5 separate regions of the Homo sapiens genome follow, and all the other regions are linked to region 5. The links are contacts of gene promoters, found by promoter capture Hi-C in human tissues and cell types (Jung and others, 2019). All regions are on one chromosome and are shown on one strand. Each heading gives the region's core, a stretch centred on a gene start or on the middle of the fragment in contact. The rest is flanking DNA. Distances are from core to core; before and after follow the strand shown. Region 1 overlaps HYCC1 (hyccin PI4KA lipid kinase complex subunit 1). Region 2 has its middle 13 kb from the start of STEAP1B-AS1. Region 3 overlaps HYCC1 (hyccin PI4KA lipid kinase complex subunit 1). Region 4 has its middle 79 kb from the start of IL6. Region 5 holds the start of TOMM7 (translocase of outer mitochondrial membrane 7).

Evidence for each region. The method cuts DNA at HindIII sites, captures the fragments that hold promoters and counts their contacts. A contact is called where the count stands out against the background at its distance.
Region 1: a fragment that was not itself captured here is called in contact with the fragment with the promoter of TOMM7 in region 5 in 1 of the 25 tissues and cell types used here (hippocampus).
Region 2: a fragment that was not itself captured here is called in contact with the fragment with the promoter of TOMM7 in region 5 in 2 of the 25 tissues and cell types used here (IMR-90 fibroblasts and heart left ventricle).
Region 3: a fragment that was not itself captured here is called in contact with the fragment with the promoter of TOMM7 in region 5 in 3 of the 25 tissues and cell types used here (IMR-90 fibroblasts, lymphoblastoid cells and small bowel).
Region 4: a fragment that was not itself captured here is called in contact with the fragment with the promoter of TOMM7 in region 5 in 1 of the 25 tissues and cell types used here (neural progenitor cells).

What each region holds. Positions count from the first base shown.
Region 1 is chr7:22,958,175-22,960,874 of GRCh38, forward strand. It overlaps HYCC1 (hyccin PI4KA lipid kinase complex subunit 1), which reads right to left. Exons shown (of 11, transcript NM_032581.4): 10 at 2,082-2,241. Among named protein-coding and RNA genes, the nearest start is that of HYCC1, 55 kb to the right of the region's middle. The HindIII fragment of the contact is 9,797 bases long and covers 1-2,700 here.
Region 2 is chr7:22,574,942-22,577,641 of GRCh38, forward strand. No RefSeq gene overlaps it. Among named protein-coding and RNA genes, the nearest start is that of STEAP1B-AS1, 13 kb to the left of the region's middle. The HindIII fragment of the contact is 5,052 bases long and covers 1-2,700 here.
Region 3 is chr7:22,974,848-22,977,547 of GRCh38, forward strand. It overlaps HYCC1 (hyccin PI4KA lipid kinase complex subunit 1), which reads right to left. Exons shown (of 11, transcript NM_032581.4): 5 at 2,494-2,574; 6 at 1,846-1,961; 7 at 1,363-1,458. Among named protein-coding and RNA genes, the nearest start is that of HYCC1, 38 kb to the right of the region's middle. The HindIII fragment of the contact is 6,927 bases long and covers 1-2,700 here.
Region 4 is chr7:22,646,436-22,649,135 of GRCh38, forward strand. No RefSeq gene overlaps it. Among named protein-coding and RNA genes, the nearest start is that of IL6, 79 kb to the right of the region's middle. The HindIII fragment of the contact is 7,254 bases long and covers 1-2,700 here.
Region 5 is chr7:22,821,458-22,824,157 of GRCh38, forward strand. It overlaps TOMM7 (translocase of outer mitochondrial membrane 7), which reads right to left and starts at 1,392. Exons shown (of 3, transcript NM_019059.5): 1 at 1,220-1,392. The coding sequence starts at 1,322. LOC112267993 (a long non-coding RNA gene) reads left to right here and starts at 1,500. Exons shown (of 3, transcript XR_002956543.2): 1 at 1,500-2,242. RefSeq lists enhancers at 873-1,633, 1,303-1,382, 1,413-1,622. The HindIII fragment of the contact is 34,135 bases long and covers 1-2,700 here.

The DNA of each region.
Region 1 (2,700 bases), core at 169-2,668, 140 kb after region 5:
TGGAAAATAGAAACCTTTCAAATTCAGCCGAACATGGTAACTTTACTGCTCTAGAAGGGAAAGCCAAGACTACCCTAAAAAGGGAGGAGACTGCAACCTACCTGTAGAGGCAAATAAGAAGGACTTAAGAGTATTTTAGAGTCCACTGGATAAAGGGAATTCACACTAAAGAAGAGTGATAAACAAGGCTAAGCTGTATTCTGTACCTGTTCCATGCATGTGACTTACTTTTTATAGTTCATTCACTTCTATATTCTCATCTGTGACTTTATTGTTATAATAAACAGAGTTTCCCAAGTGTTAGAATTGTGAAGGGGTACAGGTGATAAGAATGCTACTTTAATGAGGGTACAATCCTAAGACAGAGTGCTAACCCCTCAAGTGGCAGCCAAAATACAATCTGGAAGATATGTAAGAATCTGCTAGAAACAATACATTCAAGCAGTCTTTTCTCTTGTTTTGTAATTTTTTTCCTATAAAATATGTCTGGGAAATGGCTTCCATTTTGTTGCAGGGTACAGACCTCCTTGTTTAAATGTACGCCTGGACATGCACACATACTCTCTCTCATATACACACATATGCACAAATACAAGGGAGCATCAATATTTCACATTTTTAACTGCAGGACCTACATTTCTCTCCCAAATTCCCAATATGTCTACCTAAATAGCAAGAAGGAAAGTGGAAAAGAAATTAAAATTCATTCTTGTGCTTCCTGTAGCAGTAGCTTAGAAGCAATTATGGCCACAGTAACCACTATGATCTGCTTCATTGCCTCCGTGCCTGTTCTCACACATTAATGCCAAAACAGAAAAACCAACCTCAGGGTAAACCATATCTAATTAAATTACTTTCTACCTGTAATCTAGCCCCATTCAGTAGCATAATTTTCACTGAAGAAGCTGAAGTATGTTTAGACTATATGTTTTAAATGGTGGTATAATTTGCCTTGCTATTGGCAAACATCACCGCCTCTTTTATACTTTCCTATGGAACTTTCAAGAATTGCTACACTTTAAAAACACCAAAAATGATCACTAGGTAAGCTGGATAATCATTATTGTTTTCTGACATACAATCACCTAGATTCCTTAAGTGAAAACAATGGCAACTGTTCTCATCACCAACTTTCTAGTTTACCATAAATAGCTCCATTCTTCTCCTTTCCCATTTTCTCTATAGAAACCACAACACAACCAGTACCAAATATACCAAAAGGAACTATTATTTTCACCTCAGTTTACAGGAAGAAGAAAATAGAGAATGGATTTTGTTTTACCTCTAATATACACGTTTGCTTAGGGTAAAGAAGTAGCTTTTTGCTTCCCACCATGGTTACCTTCTGAGGAAGGTGATAATTTCCTTCTTAGACTGGTTGTTGACACTACAATAACTTCTAGGTAGGAGGGAAGTTATAAAAATAATATGAAATTAAATAAAGAACAATAAATTAAAAGACAAGGGAGGGAAATGGGAAAGCACTGAAAAAGCCATAGTGAATGAAAATGACTTCCAATAAAATTTTAAAATAATAAAATGAAGCAGACAAGAAGGGATATATATATACACACACACATACACAGAATCTTGAAAGAAAATTAACTTCAAGAAAATACAACTAGTGTTGCGTCAACACTATGGCATTCTTTACCAGAAAGTGCAGACAAAGTGTTTAAAGTCCCTATTAGTTGTTCTACTTCAATATGTAAATTCACTTGCTTAAGAGTTCACTGAGAAATCAGAAATATTAATTAAGGAACATTTGCAAATACTTTTGAATACAAGCCCAAAATGTATGAGTAATTTTAAAATGCATTTTCCTTATTCTCCTACTGAAGTAACAATTTCAAATTGAATATGATTTTTAAATACATTTTCATTCATATGTGTAACATAAGGGGCTCCATTTTTCTTACTGCCTATTGCTCCTAGATAATAAATTAGGAGTTAAGGGCAACTCCACAGCTCTTTCTTCCAGATTACTATTTACTGAAGTTAGAAGTTATAGCACCATAAGTACAGTGAAAAATGTAAAAGAATCAACAATGGTTTGACTTGAAGAGTTACGTATTTCTTACCATGTCTTTTCCACCTATGACCCCTTATTGACATGCTGGTTACTGCATTTCTTGATATTCGAGAGGAAGTTGGTGTGATTTCAACTTGAATACACCTTGTACCTTCCTTATTAGATTTCATGGGACCATGAGGCAATGAAGCCTTTATTGCATTAGCAACCTAAGGAGAAAAAATATAGTTTAAGATCAACATGAGCAGATAGAGCAGATATATTATCTAACCCTTCGATAAAACATGATGCTAAACAGGCTTATACAAAGAGGCTCTTCCCAAGCATTTTATAAGATGATACAGAAATCCTCTAAGATAAGAATAGGAGGCTAAGAGGGAAATTCATGGTTAAAAAAATATGTAAATGATAAAGTTAAAAATTTCAAAATATTCAATTAGATTTCCAAATGCCTAATGTTAATTAATAAATGCAGCTAAAGTATGTTAAGGAGAACAATTCTCATAAGTTAAAAAGACAGTTAGGTGTCTAGGAAGTCAGTCTAATAAAAATTTTTATTTTGGCCAGGTGCAGTGGCTCACGCCTGTAATCCCAGCACTTTGGGAGGCCGAGGGGGCCTGATCACCTGAGGTCGGGAGTTTGAGATCAGCCTGACCAACATGAATAAA
Region 2 (2,700 bases), core at 177-2,676, 250 kb before region 5:
TCTTAACTATGTACTGTAGTTATAAATAATATGAAGGCTGGAGCACAGTGGCTCACGCCAGTAATCCCAGCACTTTAGGAGGCCATGACAGGCAGATTGCTTGAGCCAAGGAGTTCGAGACCAGCCTGGGCAACATAGTGAGACCCCTCTCCCGCCTCATCTCTACAGTAAATAAATTAGTCAAGTGTGGTGGCAATGTGTCTGTAGTCCCAGCTACTCAGGAGGCTGAGGTGGGAGGATCCCTTGAGCCCAGGAGGTCAAGGCTGAAGTGAGCTGTAATTGCACCACTGCATTCCAGCTTGGTCGACACAGCGACAGCGTTTTTCAAAAAGAAAGAAAATATGTATCCCTGCACCATAGGAAATAGGAAGTATTGTGTGACTTTTTCTTGGTCTTTCGAGGAACTATGTCATATGAATCATGATGACTGCTGAAAATGCACAGGAAGATAAAGAAAAGTGACTTGTTGCTCAACTGTTTCAAGCCCAACTCTGGGTACCAAACTGTGGCTCCCTAAACTAACCCAGAGGGCTTGACTCTGACAAAGCTCTAGGTGCAGCCATAAGACTGACCCTTAAAAATCTGACCTGAGATAGCGACAGTCTCACCCCGAAAGCAGACCACAAATTGGGTTTATAATCTAGTGGTTTGCAGGATATGACATACTACCTAATGAACAGGGTGACCGAGTTTGGTGTGATTAGTCCGCAGATGCCAGAAAGGCTGAAGAAGCCTGCCATGAAACTAAGTTTCTGGCCAGTGGTTCCAGCCTAATCTCAGACCCTGGGAACAGAGAAGCACCCCTTCATCTCCTCCTGCAGGTAGAGATTCACCACATTCACCTTTGTAAGCTCCCTTTCCAACAACCTTGGGCACCTTTTGCAACCTATAAAGGTCCTCTCCTTGAATGCCTGCTGCTTTTCCCTGTGCTTGTCCTATCTCACTCAGATCTTTGATTCCCCTGACGACATTCCCCACCCCCTCCCCACCCCATCTCAGCTGTCCTTCTCAGCCTCGCTATCTACTCTCATTCCTCACCTGAGTGTTCCAGCAAGATCACTGTTCTATAAAGGCTCAACCTTCAAACTTGCAATACACATTTCCTGGGTCCTGCTTTGTCTCTATCCTCTGTGCTCAGCCCTGGTGTAGGATCAGTGTTCCTGTCACTCCATCTCCTTTTCCAGGGATATTTGCATCTTTAGTAGTAGTCTTCATTGGTGGTCCTTCAGTGGAGTGTCACAAAGAGAAGGGAAAACACTCAGGTACTATGAGGGGAAAGGTTGGGGACTGTTGAGAGATCACAAGGACACCTCTCACTCCTACCCCCAAAGCTACCTTAACCTATTCCTGTCAAGACAGAAGGTTGGCCGGGTGCAGTGGCTCACACCTGTAATCCCGGCACTTTGGGAGGCCAAGGCAGGTGGATCACCTGAGGTCCAAAGTTTGAGACCAGCCTGGCCAACATGGTGAAACCCCATCTCTACTGAAGATACAAAAAATTAGCCAGGCATGGTGGCAAGTGCCTGTAATCCCAGCTACTCGGGAAGCTGAGGCAGGAGAATCGCTTGAACCAAGGAGATGGAGGTTGCAGTGAGCCAAGATCGTGCCACTGCACTGCAGCCTGGGAGACAGAGCAAGACTCCATCAAAAAAAAAAAAAAAAAAAAAAAAGACAGAAGGGTCATGCCCCAGAAAACTCAACCCTGAGTCTTTGATTTGGTGTGAATTTCCCTACTTCCTTTGCTTGAAAGAAACCTACTTTTTCTAGATGTATTTGAAGAAAAACTAATAGTGATCTCCAAGCTTCAAGTGAGAATTTGTAAAGCATGGCCTATAATATCTGGCATTGTTTCCTCCAGGGCTGCTGACAGGGTCCAGGGAAAATCCCAGGAGCTTCAGAAAAGGGGTTTCTTGCTGAGTGTCATTGTGTTTTTGCAACAATGACAAAATGATATTGTGCTTTTAACACTTGATAGGAAAGGATACATTTCTTTCTGCCTCCTGGCAAATCACTGAATCTAGGGCAGTATCTGTCAGGCTGAACTTTTCCAGTACACACTCACCTTTCCTTTGTGGTTTGTTTTTTCTTGATAATGATTCCATTCCTAAGTTTTCTTCTTATGTTTATGTCTCTCCTGGATGTTATGCAGCCATCCAATGCCGAGTACGAAACTCCACTGAATCACAGTAAGAATAGTGTTGAGCCACATCTTCATTGCATCCATCAGTAGATTGATGCCCAGACAGATTTCATATGGAGTAGAACTGGCCGTGAGGTTTTCTGAGATGACTGATGGATTCGGCCTCTCACTCATGGAAGGTTTTATAACCCCAGCTTACCTCCAGAGAAGGCCTCATGTGTCAGTCAAAGGCTAAAGAAGATATTCGGTTCTCAATTTTAGTGTCCCATAAAGAAGATTGGGCAAACACAGAGGAAAAGGTCCTGTGTTTACTTTTAAAGAAATGTTAAAGTTATTATAGTTATTGGATTACATACATGGATTGAGCTGTGGATTAGGAATAACAGGACCTCATGATATAATGTGGTTTATTTTAAAATGTAAACACACACTCATATTTCATGGAGCAATAGAGGAAAATTTCTTCGGAAAGAGCAAATATGCTGAGGAAAACCAGACTCATGAATTCCTGCACATTCCTAGCTTTATGACCCCATGGTTTTATTTGGTTAATGTTCACT
Region 3 (2,700 bases), core at 124-2,623, 150 kb after region 5:
GTTCTCACAATAGTGAATAAGTCTCATGAGATCTGATGGTTTTATAAAGGGGAGTTCTCCTGCATATGCTTTCTTGCCTGCTGCCATGTAAGACGTGCCTTTGTTCCTCCTTTACTTTCCACCATGATTGTGAGGCTCCCCAGCCATGTGGAACTGTGAGTCCACTAAACATCTTTTCCTTTATAAATTACCCAGTCTCGGGTATTTCTTCATAGCAGTATGAAAATGGACTAATACACTCAGGATAAGTTGCATTTTCTAAATAAATTCCTCAAATAGAAATTATTCCACATGTTCCTTAGTTCTATAATATCTCTTATTTACTTGAATTATCGAGGGGAATAATCTGTCATTTTTGTTTGTTTTGTTTCTCCTTTTTAAAAAAAGTAACATTCACATTACCAAAAATTTAGAAAATCACAAAAAAAATCACAAAGGAGAAAATTAAAATAAACCACAATTCCACCAACTAGAGATAATCATTGTTAATATTCTGGTCATATTCAACCAATCAGGAAATCATACCATACATACTATCATTAACTACTCTTTTAAATCAGGATTTTTAAAATGTGAATATACTATACTCAAGGATATAATTTATTTTATAACCCCTTGGCTCAATTTATTTTTAACAAGAAAAGTTTAAGAACCAGTATCTCTTACTTATTTCTTAGTTCCAAATTAGAGCACAGTAAAAATAAATAAATAAATGCAAACAAAAAGAAGCCAACCACATGCCAAAACTTGAAAGGTCATAACAGCTCTATCATTTAGCTATATACTATAATCCTTTTCTGATTAAATAGTCAATTTAAACGTTATTCAGCTTTACATTCTTCATGATGTTCTTGTTTTTGTTGTTTTTGTTTGTGTTCTTTGTTTTTGAGACAGGGTCCTGCTCTATCGCCCAGACTGGAGTGCAGTGGTGCAATCATAGCTCACTGTAGCCTCAACCTCCCGGGCTCAAGTGATCCTCCCACCTCAGCCTCCCAGGTAGCTGGGACTACAGGCGTGCACCACCATGCCCAGCTGATTTTTTAAAATTTGTTATAGAGACAGGGGTCTTGCTATGTTGCCCAGGCTGGTTTTGAACTCCTGGGTTCACGCAATACTCCCACCTCAGGTTCTCAAAGTGCTGAAATTACAGACATGAGCTATCGCATCCGGCCCTTTATCATGTTTTTTGTGACTATCAATTATAGGGAACTTTCCATGTGTTGGGTAGGCTGAGCTTTACATTAACTTATTTAATGTTTTAAACAAATGATTACACAAAACAAAAATAACTTAGGTATGTACCAGACTAGCAATCATAGATTCATATATTTCAATATTAGAAGCACTTGAATTTTACTTTACCTTGAACAAATTTGACACAGTGACTGAAGAGAAACACTGGGCATGTAAGTTAAGGCAGCATTGTAACACAACAAAAGGAATGTCAACACTTCAAACCTAAAGACAAACAAAAAGAATATTAACAAATCTTTAGAATTCTAAGAAGTCAACTATAATAGGGGAGAGAGCACTCCTTGGGGAGAGATACAATGTTACAGAACAGACCTGCACAGTATAAGCACACCAATAATGAAAAACTACAAGGAAAAAAAGACTTTCCAAGTAACAGCCATATGAAACCTGTCTTTAAAATTCAGTGTTCCAGCTGACACCTGAAGCAAAGCACAGTGACAAATCTAGATCTGTTTTTCTCTTGTATAAAATGACTCAGTATTCAAATAAATTGTCACACACAACTCATTAAACATTATTTATAAGTCTACTGAAATAATTTTCTTAAAAAATTAGTGGATTAAGATAAGAATTTTTATCCCCACAGTATACCGATTCTGTGCTGTCAGCATCTCCCTTTGAGGATGAGGTCCACTGTATACCACTTTTGACAAACCATGCTGGGATAGTGCACTCTCAGTCAGAGCCATGGACCCAATGCTGGAAGGCTAGAGAAAAGACATTTGAATAAAGAAAAAAAAAGCTATTCTGCTGAAAAGGTGATATATAGAATATATATATACCACTAAAATAGCTACCACGAACATCATATATCTTAAACATATTTAGGCTGCCTACCAAATTTTCTGCTCGAAGATTTAATAACTAATTTTAAAACAAACCACAAATGAGAAATAAAAATTAGTTTAATTTCACAAATTCTACCATGGAAATACACAATTGCCCACCCACCACCCCCCTGCCCGCCGGCCAACACACACAAGTAGCCATCCATCAGGAAGAGGGAAAAATATTTCAAAAAGAATACTTTCAATAGATCTCTTATTAGCACATTTTAGTTTGATGTTCATTTATTTTGATTTCTTATCTCAATTTGGAAATAGTAAATACTTTGTGGGTGTTTATACTTTTGCAGGTACTAATAAATTGATCAATTTTTTTCCTAAATAACTAGATTATAACTTGTGGCAATATCAAAGCTTAGGGTCAATAAACTTACTGTGATAAAATGTCACTTACTTCATGGTATACAGATGGTTTGGATAAAGATGGAATCGTAAAACTCAATACTTTGGTATGTCCCTGTTTGTCAACTATTTCCTATAGAAGTGAAAGAAAATATATTAAAATACATACTTTCTTACACACAAATTTACAAACTAAATTTAAATAGTCTAAAACATTTTTTTGAAAAAGACCTGAATAGAAAGGAATTTTAAGTTAAAA
Region 4 (2,700 bases), core at 73-2,572, 180 kb before region 5:
GGAACGCCAGTTGGGTGGGGTACAGCAGCTCTGGTTTCAGAGAGTGTGCTGTGGTGTACTCTTCATGCAGCTCTATCATTGAGGTCAGCACTGGGGACAACTCTAGGAGTCCTAGACAGCCAAGGCTACAGATATCTGAAGTTATGGCAGCAGCAGCAAAGGCTGTTGGGATCCTTGGCGGCAAAGACTTCTGGGATCTCCCTGTTAGCTCTTTTTCCTCTAGGGAAAGAAGTCCTAACCGAGGGGATCCTTCTTGGTGCCAGGTCTGGTATGGCCTGCAGGCAGTTGCAGCAGCACTGGGTTCTGGGGTATGAGTATTCAGAGCAGCAGCAGAGATGGGCCCCAGAAAACTCTGGGGTGTTCCCCAGTGGCATGGGCTCTGGTGAGAGGATGAAGTGCAGTGGTGGCTTGGGCCACAGAAGGCAGGGCACAGCAGCAGCATGGCCCCAGGCCAACATTTCCAAAAGTTTTAACCCATTCCAGCATCAACTTTAAGTTCCAAATCTAATCTAAACATCACCAACTCAAAAAGTTACAAATTGCATCATCTAAATCAGGTGTTGCTGAAATCTGTATGGTCTATCCTGGGCAAAATTCCTCTCCATCTCTGGACCTATGAAACTAGGAAACAAGTTATCTAAATACAAGTATCTAAAATACAAAGGTGGGCTAGGCATAGGATAGACATTTCCATTCCAAAAAATATTAAATGGAAGGAATAAAGAGGTCACCAATCCCAAAGGAGTCAAAACTGAGCAGGGCAAATTTCATTAGGTCTCAAGCCTTGAGAATAATCCTCTGTCACTCAACACACCCTTGGGGCCCATGGCCGTTCTGCCTTTTGGGTTTGTGGTAGCCCTATCCTCTGAGTCCACAGTGGTCTATCCTTTGGACCTACAGTGGCCTCAGGATCATTCTTTCATTTTCTTAAATGGTAGCAAATATTTACAGCTGACTAGCTCTACTGGCCCACTTTCTGTCTGTAGAAGTTTGGAAGTCTGATAGTGTTCTCACATTTCATCCTGCTTCTATCCTTTTAAAAGTTCAAGCTGGCAGTCTGCAGATACAACATTCTCAAAACCCTTGTGGTTCTCCTGTGGGGGTCCAGGGATTCATGCCATTAGACAAAAGGGTTCTCCACAGATTTCCCATGAGTAACTCATTTCTATTTTTGGCTTCTGGTGAGGTGGTTGAGTGTATCCATGAGTCATGCTTTATCTCTTCAGCAAAAGGTTGTCCAGCCACATCCTTGATCTTCTCTCTAGAACACGCTTCCTAACAGAATTTCCTAACTTTAGCATCCTTTGCAATCTGGGTAGACTGATAACTTCCAAAATAAAAGTGCTTGTTCATTTTTATCTAACAGTTCCTTTCTTATCTTATCTTTTTGCTTGTATTTATTTGACTATAGGCAGCAAGGAAAAACCAGCCTGCATCTTTAATACTTTTCTCGGAAGTCTGCTTTTATTTCTACTCAGAAATATTCAAGCTATTGCTTACAAATTAGGCTTTCCATACAACAAAGAAAACATGATTCAGCCAACTTTTCTGCCCGTATATAAAAGATGACCTTTCCTTCAGCTTTCAGTAACACATTCTTCATTTCCTTCTAGCAACATTCTGTTTACAGCAATATTTGTATTCTCTTAGACAATAGAAGCTTTGTCTACCATGTACCCTACTTCCTTCTGAGCCCTTACCAGAATCCAGAAGTTTTCTATCCTCTGCCTCAAAATTCTTCCAGCTTTGGGTAATTGCACATTACCTAATTCCACAGTCACTTCCACAGTTTTAGGTATTTGTTACAGTAGCACCTCATTTCTAGTCACCAAACTATGTATTCATTTCCTAGGGCTACCTTAATAAAGTGCCACAAAATTGGTGTCTTAAAAAATAGAAATTCATTCTCTCACAGTTCTGGAGGCCAGAAATCTGAAATAAAATTTGCATTCCCTCTGAAGGCCCTATGGGAGAATTATTCCTTATCTCTTCTGGCTTCTGGCAGCTCAAGGTGCTCCTTGACTATGACTGCACCACTCCACTTTCTGCCTCTGCCTTCTTTTTTCGTTTTCTCTTCTGTCTCTTAGAAGGACATTTGTCATTAGATTTGGGACCTACCTGGATAACCCAGGGTGATCTCTTTTCAAGATCCTTAATTACATTTTCAAAGATGCTTTCTCCCAGTAAGGTCACATTCACAGGTTCTAGGGGTTGGGATGTGAACCTATCTTTCTGAGAACCATTTAACCTACTACAACTTTCCAAAAAGATTCTCACTTAGGTTCATGAGATTCTAGGCCAAAGATACTCACTGCAGCATTGTTTGTGTCAGCTGGGGGTTGTATGTCCACCACTTGGACAGTATGTAGATAAAATATGGTGGATACTCACTGTATCAGAGACATTTATGGCTCACTGGCTGCCAACACACTTCTCACATTTCCTAGCCCCTCCCACAGTTGGTCGGGGCCATTCAACAGTTTTGGTCGATGTGCTGTGAATAGCAGTGATATGTGTACTTCAAGTCTGAAGAATGTAAGAATGGATATGGATTCCCTATATTTTTTTCTTCTCTCCTTTAGCAACCCTGAAAGTCATAATTTCCCAGTGACATAGCTATGAAATGGAAGTAGAAGGGATCTCTGAGTTGTGGCTTAAAAAAGAGCTTCCCTGGCCAGGCATGGTGGCTCACACCTGTAA
Region 5 (2,700 bases), core at 142-2,641:
TCACACTTGTAATCCCAGCACTTTGGGAGGCCGCGCGCGGGGCGGAGGCCGGCTGGAGGGGAGGTAGCTAACTTGAGGCCAGGAGTTTGAGGCCAGCCTGGCCCACATAAGCAAAACCCCGTCTCTACTAAAAATATAAACATTAGCCGCGAGCGGTGGCTGCAAGTCTGTAATCACAGCTACTCGGGAGGCTAAGGGGGAAGGATCGCTTGATCCCGAGAGGCAGAGATTGCGGTGGGCAGAGATCGCGCCACTACACTCCAGCCTGGGCACACAGCGACTGTCTCAAAAAGGAAAAAAGGAAAAAAAAAGACAGAAAAGAAAAGAAAAAACTACAGAATAGGTCCCAGTCTGCAACCCTAACTGAAAAATATTAACAAATCCTTGCAGTAAGTGACCGAGCCTGTTGGCACCAGCCTGTAGTCCCAGCTACTTGGGAGACTGAGGTGGAAGGATCGCTAGAGCACAGGAGGGGAAGGTTGCAATGAGCCGGGATAGCGCCACTGCACTCCAGTCTGGGTGACAGAGCGAGACTCTGTCTTAAAAACAAAAACCAAAAAAACCCCAAATCCTTTAAGTGCGCTATAATGGTTAAGACTATGGGCTCTGATGCCCCACTGCCTGAGCCCCTAACTCCCTCAGTCAGCATAGCTGTGCGACCTTGGCAAAAAAGTTTCTCTACGGCTGTTTCCTCACCTGTAAAATGGGGGCAGTAATAGAAATCATCCAAACCCTTCATCGTACAGGTAAGAAAGCAGAGGCATCCAACGACTATTATTATAATCATGCTTTCATGGCAGTGGTACTTTCACGAGGTGTCTCGATTCCCTGAACAGGACTCTTTCCACTTAGGACCACATGGAGCGGTGAGGAAAAACACCCCGAGAACCACCTAGTGCTAGAGAGTGAATTAGTGACTTTCACATCCACTGGGGTCATCCAACCCTCCCTACAATCCCGAGAAATATGACCTCCACTTTAAGGATGCAAAAATAGAAAAGGAGGGATTGCAAGACTGCTTAAAGACCATGCAACTATAAAGCGATAGAACGGGAACTCGAACTCAGGTTAGATCGGCCCCACTTGACCAGACAGCCTCAGGGGCCGTGCACGGCAGTGTCCCCTATTTTTCTCTCCCTCCCCCGACGGCCAAAAATGGGGCTGCTGTCTCCGCCACCCTCTTCCCTCCAGTCACTTTCCCGGTTCTTCTCCCACTGACCCAGGTAAATCACAAGAGGGATAAAGCCCCAGCGAATGGCAAACTGGCTCCCCTTGAAGAGCTGCTGTAGTCTCTGCTTGGCCTCTTTGCTCAGCTTCACCATGGCGACGGCCGTGTGGCGCAGGGAGGACCCCTTACAGCAACCACAGCGTCGGGAATCCGAAAGGGAAAGGAGGTGCGCAGGCGCCACACACGGCCTTTACGGCAGGAGTCGTGAGCGTCGCCAGCAGAGGTCGTAATTCATCGCCTTTAACCTTCCCTGCTCTTCCGCCTCGCCGGCAGTAGTAGGCGCATGCGTGGTTGCGATCATGGCTGGCGGTAACTTCGCGTTTCTGTTACCCATTTTTAAAACGCATCTTCAGGTGTTCCTTCCTTCTCATGGAAGGAACATTAATTAAATTCAGAGGGACTGGGTTTTAGTCCTAACTCTTATTCCTACTGGCTGTGTAACCGTGGACAAATTATTTAACTTCTCAGAATCAGGTTGTTCAAACCTGAGGTTGAACTGCAAAAAGGTTACGAAGTGACACTCAGTAGGGCCCGAATCCATGTTTTCTTTGATCCCAATCTTTTTTAAAAAAATTTCTTTTAATTACTTGCCAACATTTTAGAATTTGGAAATCTCACATGAAATTCTGGACTTTTGAAGCTGAGGAATTCCATTGCAACAATCAAGGAGACTAAATAGGAAATGACACTTCTGTTTGGCCATCTTGCCCTCATTGGTTTAGAATGGCAGTGGTTCTCAACCCTGGCTGCACATTAGAATCACTTTAGGAGAGGTAAAACCATACTCACGCTGGAGACCTACTCCTAGAAATTCTAAAGAGTTTGGGGCTGGGAACTGGCCATTGATCTGCCTTTGAAGTTTCCCAAGTGATTCCCAACCTCTGATGTAATAAATTTCTGGCTGCTGTCGTATTTGAGATTTGACCCCCCCAGGTCTAAGACTTAATTGATTTTTAAGGCTGTAAGACATTTCTAAGACTTTGACTTTTAAGACTTTCCTGCCTCATTCTGAAGGTACGTAGTCGTTTTCTGTGCCCAATGTCTGTGCTCCTAAAAATTTCCCCTTGCTGACCTCTGTGGCTTGCGCCTGTAATTCTGGCTATTTGGGAGGCTGAGGCGGGAGGACCACTTGAGTTTGATGCTGCAGTGAGCTGTGATTGGGTCACTTGCTGTAAGCTCCCAAAGGGTTCACTTTGCCCGCTGCCTGGACAGAGCCGATTGATCAACACTGGGGAATTACAATAAAGAGTAATTCACGCAGAGCTGGCTGTGCAGGAGACCAGAGTTTTATTATTACTCAAATCAGTATCCCATAGCATTCGGGGATCAGAGTTTTTAAGGACAATTTGGTGCGTGGGGAGACAGCCAGTAAGTCGGAAGTGCTGATTGGTTGGGTCAGAGATGAAATCACAGGGAGTGGAAGCTGTCTTGTACTGCCTCAGTTCCTGGGTCGGGGCCACAAGATCAGATGA